Regions from separate parts of the Homo sapiens genome. Here region 2 is linked to region 1. Evidence: promoter capture Hi-C in human tissues and cell types (Jung and others, 2019). All regions are on one chromosome and are shown on one strand. Each heading gives the region's core, a stretch centred on a gene start or on the middle of the fragment in contact. The rest is flanking DNA. Distances are from core to core; before and after follow the strand shown. Region 1 holds the start of WNT3A (Wnt family member 3A). Region 2 overlaps WNT3A (Wnt family member 3A).

Region 1 (6,569 bases), core at 2,899-5,398:
ACTCAGCTGGAGAAAGGAAATTCCTGCTCAGAAAACCTAGAAAAGAAGCCAGACTCACAGTTCATGAGGCGGCAGTGGGTCCTCATAAAGGTCTTCATCCTAGTGGCCTTCATATTGAGTGGCTGAGGAGGAAGACAGAAGCGGGGCTTGGTCTTGCTGTGTCAGGGTGGCAGAGGCAGGAGAAATCCATGTATAAGTGACCCACACAGTGCAAACCTGTGTTGTTTGAGGGTCACCTGTCCTGCATGAACATCTCCTTGTATGGCCTGAGAGCCAGGACCTTGAACAAGAAGTGAGAGTGTTGCTTCTGGAGGGCCAGTAACTGCAGTTATGTGAGGATGAAATAAAAATATGATTCATTTATTTTTAACTGATATGATTTTTTTTCAAATAGCTACTGATCATTAAGTGGTTGGACCTAATTACTTAATAAACAAAGCTCTTAGGTATTTATTTTAGCCTGAGGAGCTGGGCAAAGAATGACTATAAGTTGTTTTCTTGATTAATTTAATTTAATTTTATTTTATTTTATTTAGAGTCAGGGTCTCACTCTGTCACCCAGGTTAGAGTGCAGTGATGCAATCATAGCTCACTGCAGCCTTGAACTCCTCAGCCCAGATGATCCTCCCATCTTGGCCTCCCAAAGTGCCGGGATTACAGGTGTGCACCATCACACCTGGCCAATTGAAAGTTTTGATCTCAAGAACCCACTGCTTATGGAGAAGGCATCCAAAGAGTGACCCCCACAAGGAAGGTCAGGGAAGCTTCCAGAAGGGACCAAGTTCCAATGGAACTGACTGTGGAGGGGCACTCCGTCTTCTGACCCTGGACCCCTACCCTGTCCTGCTGCTGTTCCTTCCAGGGTCCCTCAGCCAGAAAGCCCCCAGAGCCTTGAACTCTGTCTGCCCAAACCCCTTCTCTGTTTTCCCCCAACTTATTTTTGCTCAAATGAGAAAAAAAGGAAGCAAAAGATGACCAGTTAGTGTCTGAAATCCTGGCTTGCCCCACCCATAACAGGGACTCACACCCGCTGTAGACAGGGAACCCACTACCTCACACAGCAAACTGTCCATCAGAGATGCCCCTCCCACCTGGCTTACCCCACCCAAGCAGGTATCTTACAGAGCTTCCGGGGTGGGCAGCGCCTCCTCTCGCCTGGGGGCCTATTCTGGAAGGAGGGAGCACGCTCCCTGGGCCCTCCAGCAGGCCAGAAATGATGTTCCCTCCAGCACCATCCATACATGGGGAGTTTTGTTTTATCAAACACATGGCTGGCTGCTCAGGGCTTAGCTCCAGAGCTGCCCGGTTGTCAGGCCTTCTCACACGTGCCCTCTCTGAGGACGATTAGCCCTTTCCTGACGCTGGCTTGCAAAGGTCTCACCCACCTCCCCGTTCCAAGTGTTGGAATGTGGGTCTGTGTCCTGGCCAACAAGGAGGTCTGTGGAGACAGGACCGGGTCTCAGTCACCGTTCAGCAGCCACCCGGCATGCCCCCAGGAGCCTGCCCTATGCCTTGACCTCAACCTACGCCATCCCAGTCCCCAGCGCAATGCACAGGTGGGGACATAGACCTTGACAGACTGGTCAGGGACAGCTCCCTTTAGGCAACAGCAGAGGGCGCTTCCAGGGAGGCCCCTCACCTTCCTCTGCACCCCAAGCAAGGGACAAGAGGTGCTGTAGGCAACATCACCCGAGCCTGGAAGACACTCAGGAGAAGCCCCTCAGGCCCCTGACACCCAGCTGGGGTCCCACCCTTGCTCTCCCACTCTGCTCTCCACCCCACCCCAGCCCAGCCCCACTGACTTGGCTGCTCAGGAGCCGAGGCTCTCGGAGGCTCACAGAGGGAAGGAGGAGCCCCACGTGGTACAGGCAGGTACCGAGGAGCTAGTTCCAGAAGCCTCCGCTCGTTCCTCCATGCAGCCTACCCTGGCTCCCTGGTATCCAGAGTCTTCAGAAACAGGAGCCCTCGCTTGAGAGCCTGGCCTGGGCAGGCTGAGCTCCTGCCTGGGGCCTCGGAGTCTGCTCCTCCCTTCATCTTCTGCAGCCTGGGAAGCGGCCGGATCTCAGTGTGTGTACTACCCAGGTGGCACGGGCAGAGGATGGGGCCTGATGGGGGAGAAGAAAGCAGCCAGGAGGAGGGGCTTGGGAAACCAAGGGGCAAGAGGGCAGGACTGAGCAGGCTGCGCTCACCTGCCCCCTTCAGTGAGGTCACGAGGCCCATCCTGTCGGTGGGCAGAGCTGGCATCCTCTAGGGGGCTCTAATCCCCGAGCCTCATTTCTGGGGAGGTGGGGGTAACAAGAGTCTGCGTGCCTCAGGCTGGGCTCAGGCGCCCACCCCACCTGCAGCCCAGGTTTTCCCCAGTACCACAATTGGGTGGGATTTTTGCTGCAAGGCCAAGTCCAGAGGAGCACAAACACGCTCCTCCCCTCCCCCTCCCTGACCCCACCGCCGCTTCATTCCAGAGCTCTTCCCTCTTTCCCTCTGAGGGTGGGGGCCCCGCAGTGCCTGGGAGAAGCGGGTGGGCGGCCGGGCATGCGTAGCGGAAACTGGATTCCCAAGGTAGTGAGGAGCAAAGGGAACTTTTTTTCAAAGAGAAAGGCTGTCACTCTGAATTCAGGACTCCTGACATAGTCACCAGGTGACCCCTAGGGCCGGTGTCCACAGGACCACAGGCTCCCTCTGCAAACGCAGAACCAAGTTGTGAGTGGGGCACACTGTGGGAAGCAGCTGCCTCCATCAGCCAGCCAGTGACACACCTGGGGACATCTCAGCCACCCCCTCCCTGAGAAGCTGCACAGAAGCGGCCACATGCCCATCCCTGCCTCTCCATGCACCTCCCTCCCGCAACTCTGCAGCCGCACAGGAGGCCTAGCCCACAGGCTGGGCAGTGCAGTATCCCCAGAGAACACACCACGGATGAGTCTGGAGTTGCTTGGAGCTCTCAGAAGCTCCCGGAGCCTCCTTCCTCAATTCCAACGCGGTAACCAAGATTCCTGCTGAGCTTAGGTCACAGTGTGACTGCAGGAGGACCAGCCGCGATGGGAGAGTGCCTCTTAACCATCCCAGTTATCAGGTCCCCCGGGGGAGGCTGGGGACACTTCCCCTCTGCAAATTACAATCTCCCCAGGCGGCTCCCGGGGCAACACATGGATATGCAAATGACTGGGAGCTGGAGAGTTGACTGGTCACTGGGTGACCTTGGGCAAGTCACTTTCCCTCTCAGGTCTTCCCCTCTCCATCAGCAAACTCCTAAAGCTTAACTAAACAGTCAGAAATCCCTCTGTCGGAACAGGCTGCATAGCTCTGGGCAGACCTGGAGGTTGGTGGTCCCAGAACCTGGGGGCAGCACTGCGCTTCCCCACCGTCCCATCGCGTCAGGGGCTTCCACTGTTCTCTTCCCTGGTGGAGTGATGGGGAGAAAAATGGAGGGGTCAATCCCTGCGCCACAGAGAGAGTCCCACTCGTCCCCAGCTGTGACCCACAGACGCGTGGCTGCACCTTGGAGGTCCACCTGGCCGCTGTCCCCATTGCAGGCTGCACCCATCCCGGACCCTTTCTATCCGCCGAAGGCGCAGGCAGCTCTGGTCTCAGCGGAAGGAGTCCGGCCGCAGGCAGACGGGGCCAAAGGACGTGCACCCGACAACCGTCCGCTCCCTCCCCAAACCCCCGCCCCGAGAAGGTTGATGGATGAAGGGGAGCCCTAGCCCAGCCACCTCGGGGGCAAGAGACGGAGCTCGCCACAGACCAGGAGCGAGAGGGGGACTGCGGGTCCCACCGTGAGCGCAGGGCGCGCGGGGCTGGAAACCCAGGACGCGGCCCGGGAGCTCCAGGAGGGCGCCTGCGGATCGCGCGGCCCCGGGCCGGCCGCCTGCCCATCTGGCGCACCCCAGCGCGCCGCGCACACCTGGGGGCCCGCACACCAGCACGTCCTCAGACACACCGACACCCACGGCAGCAGGCGGGGGCCAACGCCGCCGCCGCGGTTCGGGCTCCCGTGGCCCCGCCTGCCCCTGCCTGCCCCGCCCGGGCCCCGGCCCCGGCGGGCGCCCCCCGCGGCGCTGCCCCGCCCCCGCCGCCCCGCGCCGCCCCGGGCCTCGGCCCGCAGCCCGGCCGCCGGCCCACCTGGCGCAGCGCCGCCCTCGGAGCCCGCGCACACCCGCGCACCCGCGGCCGCAGGAGGGCCCAGCGACGCCGCCGCGCCAGCTCCCAGGGCCCGGCCCCCCCCGGCGCTCACGCTCTCGGGGCGGACTCCCGGCCCTCCGCGCCCTCTCGCGCGGCGATGGCCCCACTCGGATACTTCTTACTCCTCTGCAGCCTGAAGCAGGCTCTGGGCAGCTACCCGATCTGGTGGTGAGTGAGCCTCCTCGCGTTCGCCCCTGCCCCTGTGCGCCGCGCCCGCAGCAGACGGTCCCCTCGGGCAGGGACCCCGCGGTGGCCCGAGCCCGCGCCCTTCTGCTCCAGCCCCGCGTGCGGGCCGCGGGCGGTTGGTTTTCCTTGACGGCCACTTTGGACCTGTTCAGGCCGCTGGGACGCGTGGGTGGCGGAGTTTCCGGAGACATTGATTCCCGAGCGGGGGAGTAGGGGAGGTTGCGGAGGTCCTAGCTGCCCCTGGCGTCGGACAGGGCGAGCAGTGGGCTGGGGAGAGGCTGAAAGAAGGTCGGCACGCACGGTCACCGAGGGGACAGGCAGCTCGAGGCCAGGGGACAGGCGAGGGAAGAGGGCCAGCGAGAGAGAATTCGCCGGAGACTTTCCTCAAAAACCGTATCTTACACACAAACACACACACACGTTTTAAAACAAAGTCGATGAGACAAGACTGAACAGCTCGGAGCAGCGTGGTTACGTAAAGAAAGCTGGGACCCGGCGGGGAGTGGCGCAGAGCCGGCGGCGGGGCGCACTGGGGGCCGGCCCTGGGCCCCGCGCGCCTCCCCGCCGCAGTCCGGGCACGGGGGTTTCCAGGGGCCCTCTCTGCGAGCCCTCCGCATGGGTCCACCTGGCAATGAGGGGCTGCTGTAGAGAGAGTTAAGGGTGAGTTAAGCACGGGGTGTGAGGGGCTCCAGGACCCTCAATCAGAAAGCGCTGTGCTGCGCCCTCCACACCAGAAAAGGCGCGTTCCGTGAGACCCTCCCCAGCCTGGCGATGGAAGTGCAGATAAACCAAAGGAAGGGTCCCGAAAGGTCTCTCTCAGGCCTCCCACCTCCACTGCACATATCCTGTGGGAGGGGGAACGGTGGCCACACTTTCGCCAGGGCTTGTGATCCCTCAGAGCCCTCACCAAGCAAGGATCACCCCAGTTCCGAATTAAGGGCGCTCTGAGATGCCCAAGATTGAGGAACACAAGTGGGAGGAATGTGGGCGCGCAGGGCCGGGCGCAGCGCTGGTAGGACCCACAGTTGGAGAGAAGCCTCCCCACAAGCATGCACACTCCCCCCCATCCTTCTCCGACGGCAGCCTGGAATTATAATAATTACGCCGAGGGGAAGGGGGGAGACCCAGCGAGCCGAGGTACATCTAATCCGATAATAATTTTTCTCTTCGAGATGGTTCAGGAGCGGGGGCTCCCGCGGTAGGGGCGCCGGGCCAGGAGCAGCGGGGAGGGGAAGGGGCAGCCCTAGGCAGCTGAAGGGCCTGGAAGAGGCCACGAGGCCGCGGGGACGCGCTTCGGGGACCCCCGCGCGCCCCTATTTCCGCGTGCCCCATTTCCCGTGCGGCACCTGCTGCGCCCAGTGGCCCACCTGAGGGTCAGGCTCGGGGCTCGCCTTGGGGTGCGGGGATACTGACGCGCGTCCAGACGGCCGCAGGGAGCCAGGGGCAGCGCGTCCGTCCGAGAGAGCCCCGAGGGCTGCCGGCTTACGCACCAGGCTTCTAATTAGAACCCGCCGCCGCGTTCCTGAGCGCAAAAGGAAGCTCCTTCGCCCCGCGCCCTTCCCATAAATGTCGCCAGCCTCCTGGCAACCCCGCGCCCTAGGATCTTTGTCTTGTCGGCCCTGAGGGTTCCTAGCCTCGGTCCCCATCCACCTCATATGCATGTATACCTCCTTTTCACCTGGGCCCCCTGTGTTCTACCCTGAATGGACCCTGAGACACCCTCGGGGACAGTCAGGCATTCTGCAGGGGAGCCAGGAGGAGCAGAGAAGTGAAGTCCCTGTACCCTCCGCACCCTCCTATCAAGAGTCCAGGACAGCCCTTTGGCCACACAGGGAAGCGGGGCATAGAACCCCACCTGACACTGACCGGGGTGGGTGGTGAGGACCCCTCCCCCATCCCCACCACCACTTTGTTCTCAGTAGGGTTCTCACACTTGGGGATTCTCTGCTTCCTGAGAAGCAGCCTCCCCTTGGGGGAGGCTGGCTCCCTGGGGACAAGTCTGCCCCCTTCTTGATCCCCTCTCTGCTCCCAGGCAGGCTGCTCGGGCTGGAGCAAAGACATGGCTTCCCCCAGGCATGAGCAGCACCCCGGCAGCATAGGGAAGAAGACTCACAGAAGGACGCAGTGCTGCAGGACCCCTGCTGCTGGACCCCTGCCGCTGGCATCCTACAGTTTAATAGCCTTAATAGCCGGGGAAGATT
Region 2 (6,569 bases), core at 2,707-5,206, 45 kb after region 1:
GCCCTGTATCCCCGCCTTGTCCCATGGGAGGACCCTGGCTCCAGGAGAACCTCAGGCCTCCTTCTATCCCCATAGAGAGGGCCCATCGGAGCTCCCTTCTCCCTCCTGCTCTCCCAGGGCCTCGAGGGGAGAGAGAAGGTCAGAGCCAAGGAAAGGTGGAGGCTCAGGACTCTCCCACAACAGAAGCAGAGACATGGAGGAACCTGCCCCAGGGCACACCTAGCCCCCAGAGGCCAAGCCGAGGCTCAGGGGCTCCAAAGCCCAGGTGTCTTCTTGCTAGGTCTGTAAGATCCCTGCCCAGCAGCAGGTCAGGCTCTTTCCTGGTTGGCTCCCTGCTAGTTCCCCAGCTCAGACTGCAATGCTTGGCAAACAGCAGGCACTCTGTTCCTCACCTGTGTCAGAGTGTGGGTCCAAAGTGAGTGCCTGTCTCTTTTTATTTTGTTTTTTTGAGACAGGTTCTCACTCTGTTGCCCAGGCTGGAGTGCAGTGGTGTAATCATACCTCACTGCAGCCTTGAACTCCTGAACTCAAGTGATCTTCCTGCCTCAGCCTCCTGAGTAGCTGGGATTATAGGCCCCCAGCCCTGAGTGTCTTTTATCAATGGAAGCAGGGCCTGGCCAGGCCCACCCCCTCTCCTCATGCCCTTGCAGAAGTGTCTGCATACACCCACCCCCAAGACACAGCTCATTCTTTCAACCTGTCTGGGGAAGCCTGGCTGGGGTCCTGGCCTCTGCAAAGCCCACACCACCGCTCATTCCCATCCCTCTGATCCTAGCCTCCAGAGCTTTCTCCTAAATTCCAGCCCTCCCCTACCACCCTTCTGCACAAGCAATGCCACTTCCCCAACTTGGCCTCTATTTCCCCATTTGGGGAAGAAGGAAGCTGTGTACAAGGACCCAGGCAGCTCCAATGTCAGCAGCGGCAGACACCCTGCAGCCTTCCAAGCTGGAGGCAGGGGCATTTGGGGCACTGGGGCTGGCCCTGGGGAGGCGGGCACTGGAAGTCACTGGTGTTGAGAAGATTCCAGAAGAGGCAGCTGTACCGCTGAGCCATGCAAGTGTCGGTGCTTGGGGTGGAGGAAGGCAATGGCAAGTGGCACAGCAGAGGTGGGCGGTGTGTGGGGTGGAGCCACACTCTGGGGTCTGCACCCCAGGCTATCTGGGCAGCAGAAGGAATTAGCTCTTGTCTGGTTTTACCTGCCTTCGTTCAGTTGTATGATTATTTTGAGATCCTTTGTGCTATTTTTCTTGTTATTCCTAAATTAAATGCTGTTACAGACTTGCCACTGCTTTTTAACCATCCCTGTTAATGGACATTGGGGTACTTCCAGTTTGTGGCTTGTGTGAACATTTGCTTACAAGTCTTTGCACAGACACGGGTTTCCTCTGGGGCAAACCTAACGGCTGGTGGACGTTTACCCTTGAAGACACTGCCAAAGTGCCTCCCAAGGGGACTGCACCTTTCCCCTCCATCCAGCTGTGAACAAGGGTCAGGGTCTGATTTCTCCACATCCTTGCCAACACTTGCTACTCTTTGACTCTTTGATTGCAGCCATCCCCGTAGGTGTGAGGCGGCCCCTTATTGGGTTTTTTGATTTGCACATCCCCAGGATGGGTGATGTCGACCATCTTTCCAGGTGCATGCTGGCCTTCCTTGTGCCTTTTTTTTAAAGACAGGGTCTTGCTCTATCACCCATGCTGGAGTGTGACTATAGCTCACTGCAGCCTCAAACTCCTGGGCTCTAGCAATCCTCCCACCTCCGCTTCCTGAATAGCTGGGACTACATGCACACACCACTGCACCTTGCTAATTTTAACATTTTTTTGTAGAGATGGGGTCTTGCTACATTGCCAAGGCTGGTCTCAAACTCCTGGGCTCAAGCAATCCTCCCACCTCTGCCTCCCAAAGGGCTGGGATTACAGATGTAAGCCACCTTGCCAGCTGTATGTTTTTTAAGACAGGGCTGGAGTGCAGTGGTGCTATCCTGGCTCACTGCAGCCTCCACTTCCTGGGCTCAAGTGATCCTCCCGCCTCAGCCTCCCAAGTAGTTGGGGCCACATCCAGTTAATATTTTTAGTTTTTGTAGAGATGGGGTCTTGCTATGTTGAAAAGGCTGTCCTGGTCTCAAGCAGTCCTCCTACTGTGCCTCTCAAAGTGCTGGGATTACAGGCATGAGCCACTGTACTTAGCCAAAGTTGCTTGTTAAAAAGAGCCTGGTACCAACCTCCCCTCTCTCACTTCTGTCACCATGTAATTTCTTGCACACACTGGTTCCCCTTTACGCCCCCTTTCCCTTCTGCCACAAGTGGAAACAGCCTGAGGCCCTTGCCAGAGGCAGTTGCTGGAGCCATGCTTCTGTGTAGCCTGTAGATCCGTGAACCAAGTAAGCCTCTTTGCCTTATACACCACCCAACCTCACGAGTTCCTTTATAACAATGCAAATGGGCTAAGACCCCTGACCTGCCCAAGGCGGTCCTTTGAGCTGAGCCCTGTTAACCCTGCATCTCTCCTCTCTCTACAGCTACCAGGGAGTCGGCCTTTGTCCACGCCATTGCCTCAGCCGGTGTGGCCTTTGCAGTGACACGCTCATGTGCAGAAGGCACGGCCGCCATCTGTGGCTGCAGCAGCCGCCACCAGGGCTCACCAGGCAAGGGCTGGAAGTGGGGTGGCTGTAGCGAGGACATCGAGTTTGGTGGGATGGTGTCTCGGGAGTTCGCCGACGCCCGGGAGAACCGGCCAGATGCCCGCTCAGCCATGAACCGCCACAACAACGAGGCTGGGCGCCAGGTAGGTTCGCCGCCCGCAAGGGTGCTTGGGAAAAAGGAGCCTCCTCAGCAGGGTGTGTGCCCTGGTTCCTTGGGGCATATGGCCCGGTGAGGCAGGATGGTGGCCAGGCTGAGGGTCTTCTCGACCCCTGCCTGGGGTGTGCGAAGCTTAGCACCATCCAGCTACACCACAGCATCCAGTGCGCTCCTGGGGATGGCGAGCCCACCTGTGGACTGGGGTAGCCAAGAAGGAGTGATGAGGCAAAGGCCTGGTCAACAGGAGCCCCGGCAGAGCCCAGGGAGGGAGACAGCCAGGCAGCCACAGAGACGGGGAGGAATTCTGCAATGAGGAAATGCAGGCACACAAGGTGACCCGATGTCAAGGACAGCTGGCAGTAATTTAGGGGGAGGGAGGCTGGGAGAGCCTCCCAGGCAGCCTGGAGGTGAAAGACAACAAGCGACTTGGTGGGCAGAGCACAGAGTGTAATGGAACAAAGAGCATCTTGATCTGCAGAGGCCAACCCAAACCAAGCCGTGTAAAGCTTCGTGAGCCTGTGTCTTATTCTGTCTGTGCTGCTACAACAAAATACCTTAGACTGGATAATTTATAAACAATGGGAGTTTAGTACTCACAGTTCTGGAGACTGGGAAGTCCAAGGTCATGGTACTAGCAGATACCTTGTCCGGTGAGGGCCTGCTCCTCATGGATGATGCCTTCTGTGTCCTCACCCAGGGTGTGGATCGCTCTGGGGTTACTTTTATAAGGGCATTGTTTTAGGCCATTCTTGCATTGCTACCCGAGACTGGGTAATTTATGAAGAAAAGAGGTTTAATTGGCTCATGGATCTGCAGGCTGCACAAGCTTGGTAACAGCATCTGCTCAGCTTCTTGGGAGGCCTCAGGGAGATTTTACACATGGCAGAAGTGGAGTGGTAGCAGGCACGTCACATGGGCCAGAGCAGGAGCAAGGAAGACAGAGTGGGGGAGAGGTCGCCACGCACAGATCTTGTGTGAACTCACTCATTATCATGAGGACAGCACAAGCCATTCATGAGGGATCTGCCCCCATAACCCAAACACCTCCTACCAGGTCCCACGCCCAACACTGGGGATTACACTTCAACATGAAATTTGGAGGGAACACAGATCCAAACCGTATCAGGCACGAATCCCATTCACGATGCTCCACCCTCATGACTTGACTTGATCACCTTCTAAAGGCCCTACCTCTTAATGCTGTCACCTTGAGGGTAAAGATTTCTTTCTGGGGGGGTGGGGACACAGGGTCTTGCTGGATACAGTGGCACCATCTCAGCTCACTGCAGCCTCCACGTCCCGGGTTCAAGCGATTCTCCTGCCTCAGCCTTCTGAGTAGCTGGGACTATAGGCGCATGCCACCACACCTGGCTAATTTTTGTATTTTTAGTGGAGATAGGGTTTCACCATGTTGGCCAGGCTGGTCTTGAGCTTTTGGCCTCAAGTGATCCACCCACCTCGGCCTCCCAAAGTGCTGTGATTACAGGTGTGAGCCACCATGCCCAGCCGAGGGTAAAGATTTTAACCCATGAATTTTTGAGGAACACAAACATTCAGACCACAGCAGCTTGCTAGAAAGGATGTGGTCAGAAGATCAGTGGATGGCCAAGGGAGGAAAGATGGCTGATGGGCAGTGACGGGCGTAAGGACCAAGTGGCGTCCACGGGATTTAACAACATGAAGATGGCAGCTGACCTTGGCTGTAGAATCAGGGGACCACAGAGGGGTGACGAGTGAACAGGGGATATTCACCTTTTAACAGTGAGGAACTAGATAACTCAGACTAATCTTCCTGCAGAAGACAACTTCAGATGCAGGATGAACTATAAAAAGCACCCTGTTAAAAGTGTGGAGTCCCCATAATTACCCAATTCATGATAGATGAGGCAGTGCAGTGCCATGGGAGAAATGGGCTTTTCAATAAATGGTGCTCAGTCAACCGGGTGGTGCTATGGTCTGAATGTGTCTCCCAAAATTCGTATGTTGTAAGCTTGATCTCCAGTGCAACAGTCTGGAGAGGTGGGACCTAATAAGAGGTGTTTAGGTGATGAGGGCCTTGCCCTCATAAAGGGACCAATGCTGCTGTAAAAGGGCTTGCAGAAGAGGGTCTCTCTCTCTCTCTCTTTCTATTACTTTCCTGCCATATGAGGACATGATGTTCCTCCCTTCTGGAGGACATGGCATTCATTCAGGGTGCCCTCTTGGAAGCAGATAAACCAAGCCCTAACCTGTCAGCACCTTGATCTTAGATTTCCCAGCCTCCCAAACCATGAAAGAATACATTTATGAATTACTCAGTCTCAGGTGTTACGTTGTAGCAATACAGCATTGACTAAGACAGATAGCAACATGGAAAAAAAATAACCCTGGCTTGCTACCTCACACCATCTGTAAAAATCAATTACAAATCCCAGTGGGACAGGTAAAACAATAAAACTTTTACAAGAAAATATAGAATATCTTTGTGACCTTAGAGTAGGCAAAGGTGTCTTAAACAGTCCAAAAAAGCACTCACATTGAAAGAGAAGTGGAATAACATAGACTATATTCAAATTAAGAACTTTCATCCATAAAAAGACACCACTATGGGACTGAAAAGGCAACCCATAGAGGACACATTCACATACATACATCCACACTCACATATGCAGCAAATGTAGAGAAGCTACAGTAGGAAAAGAACTCTGCAGACTAAGAAAAAAAAGATAGACAAACCAATGGGAAAATTGGCCAAAAAATTAAAAGCCATGTTATGAAAGAAAATATAGAAATTCCACTACCTATACAAAAGGTGCTCAATGTTATGAGTCATCAAGAAAATGCTGTGAGAACCTATGTCCTGGAAAGAGAGAGGAGGATGGGGGTGTCTGAGACACTGGTGTTCTGGGGCAGGTAATTTGTAAAATTTTGTATATTTTGCACTTATGACACATATATATTTTTGTATGTCTATTATACTTCCATAAAATGATTTTTAAGTGTCAAATAACTGACCATCTAGTGAGGAATTAGCAGCCCCTGATCCAAGAGAAGATCCCAAGTCTGGTACCTGGGGTAGCTTTTGTCTAGGGGCCATTTGCTGACCTGGAAGAGACTACAGAGGTTGCACTGCATTTCCAGCAGACTCACAGAGCTAAGGGGCCCACCAAGGGTGCCATCTCTGGTAAATCCTTCCTCAGTGTAGGCTGTGACCCTGAAGAGCAAAGCCAAGCCAGAAGTAGTCTTGTCCTGTTCACATGGGCAGACTAGAAATCTCTCAAAACCTGAACTTGGATTAAGGTAATCCCAAATTGCTGGTACTCCCATACACCTGGAAAAAGCAGACAAAATCCTCTTTGGAGAAGGATGATATCCCTCCTCTAAGCCTATAAATGTTTCTATAATAATTTTTTAGAAAACACAATGTTGGCTGGGCGTGGTGGCTCACACCTATAATCCCAGCACTTTGGGAGGCCGAGGTGGGCGGATCGTGAGGTCAGGAGATTGAAACCATCCTGGCTAACATGGTGAAACCCGGTCTCTACTAAAAAATAACAAAAAAAATTAGCCAGGCGTGGTGGCAGGTGCCTGTAGTCCCAGCTACTTGGGAGGCCGAGGCAGGAGAATGGCGTGAACCCAGGAGGCGGAGCTTGCAGTGAGCCAAGATCGCACCACTGCACTCCAGCCTGGGCGACAGAGTGAGACTCTGTCTCAAAAAAAAAAAAAAAAAAAGAAAACACAATGTCCAGCACACAATCAAAGATAATCTATCACATGATCTGATGACAC

What was found. The method cuts DNA at HindIII sites, captures the fragments that hold promoters and counts their contacts. A contact is called where the count stands out against the background at its distance.
Region 2: a fragment that was not itself captured here is called in contact with the fragment with the promoter of WNT3A in region 1 in 2 of the 25 tissues and cell types used here (H1 embryonic stem cells and pancreas).

What each region holds. Positions count from the first base shown.
Region 1 is chr1:228,002,850-228,009,418 of GRCh38, forward strand. WNT3A (Wnt family member 3A) reads left to right here and starts at 4,149. Exons shown (of 4, transcript NM_033131.4): 1 at 4,149-4,350. The coding sequence starts at 4,280. RefSeq lists an enhancer at 1,663-1,712. The HindIII fragment of the contact is 17,022 bases long and covers 2,010-6,569 here.
Region 2 is chr1:228,048,135-228,054,703 of GRCh38, forward strand. It overlaps WNT3A (Wnt family member 3A), which reads left to right. Exons shown (of 4, transcript NM_033131.4): 3 at 2,522-2,787. Among named protein-coding and RNA genes, the nearest start is that of LINC02809, 25 kb to the right of the region's middle. RefSeq lists a silencer at 830-1,036. The HindIII fragment of the contact is 5,382 bases long and covers 1,266-6,569 here.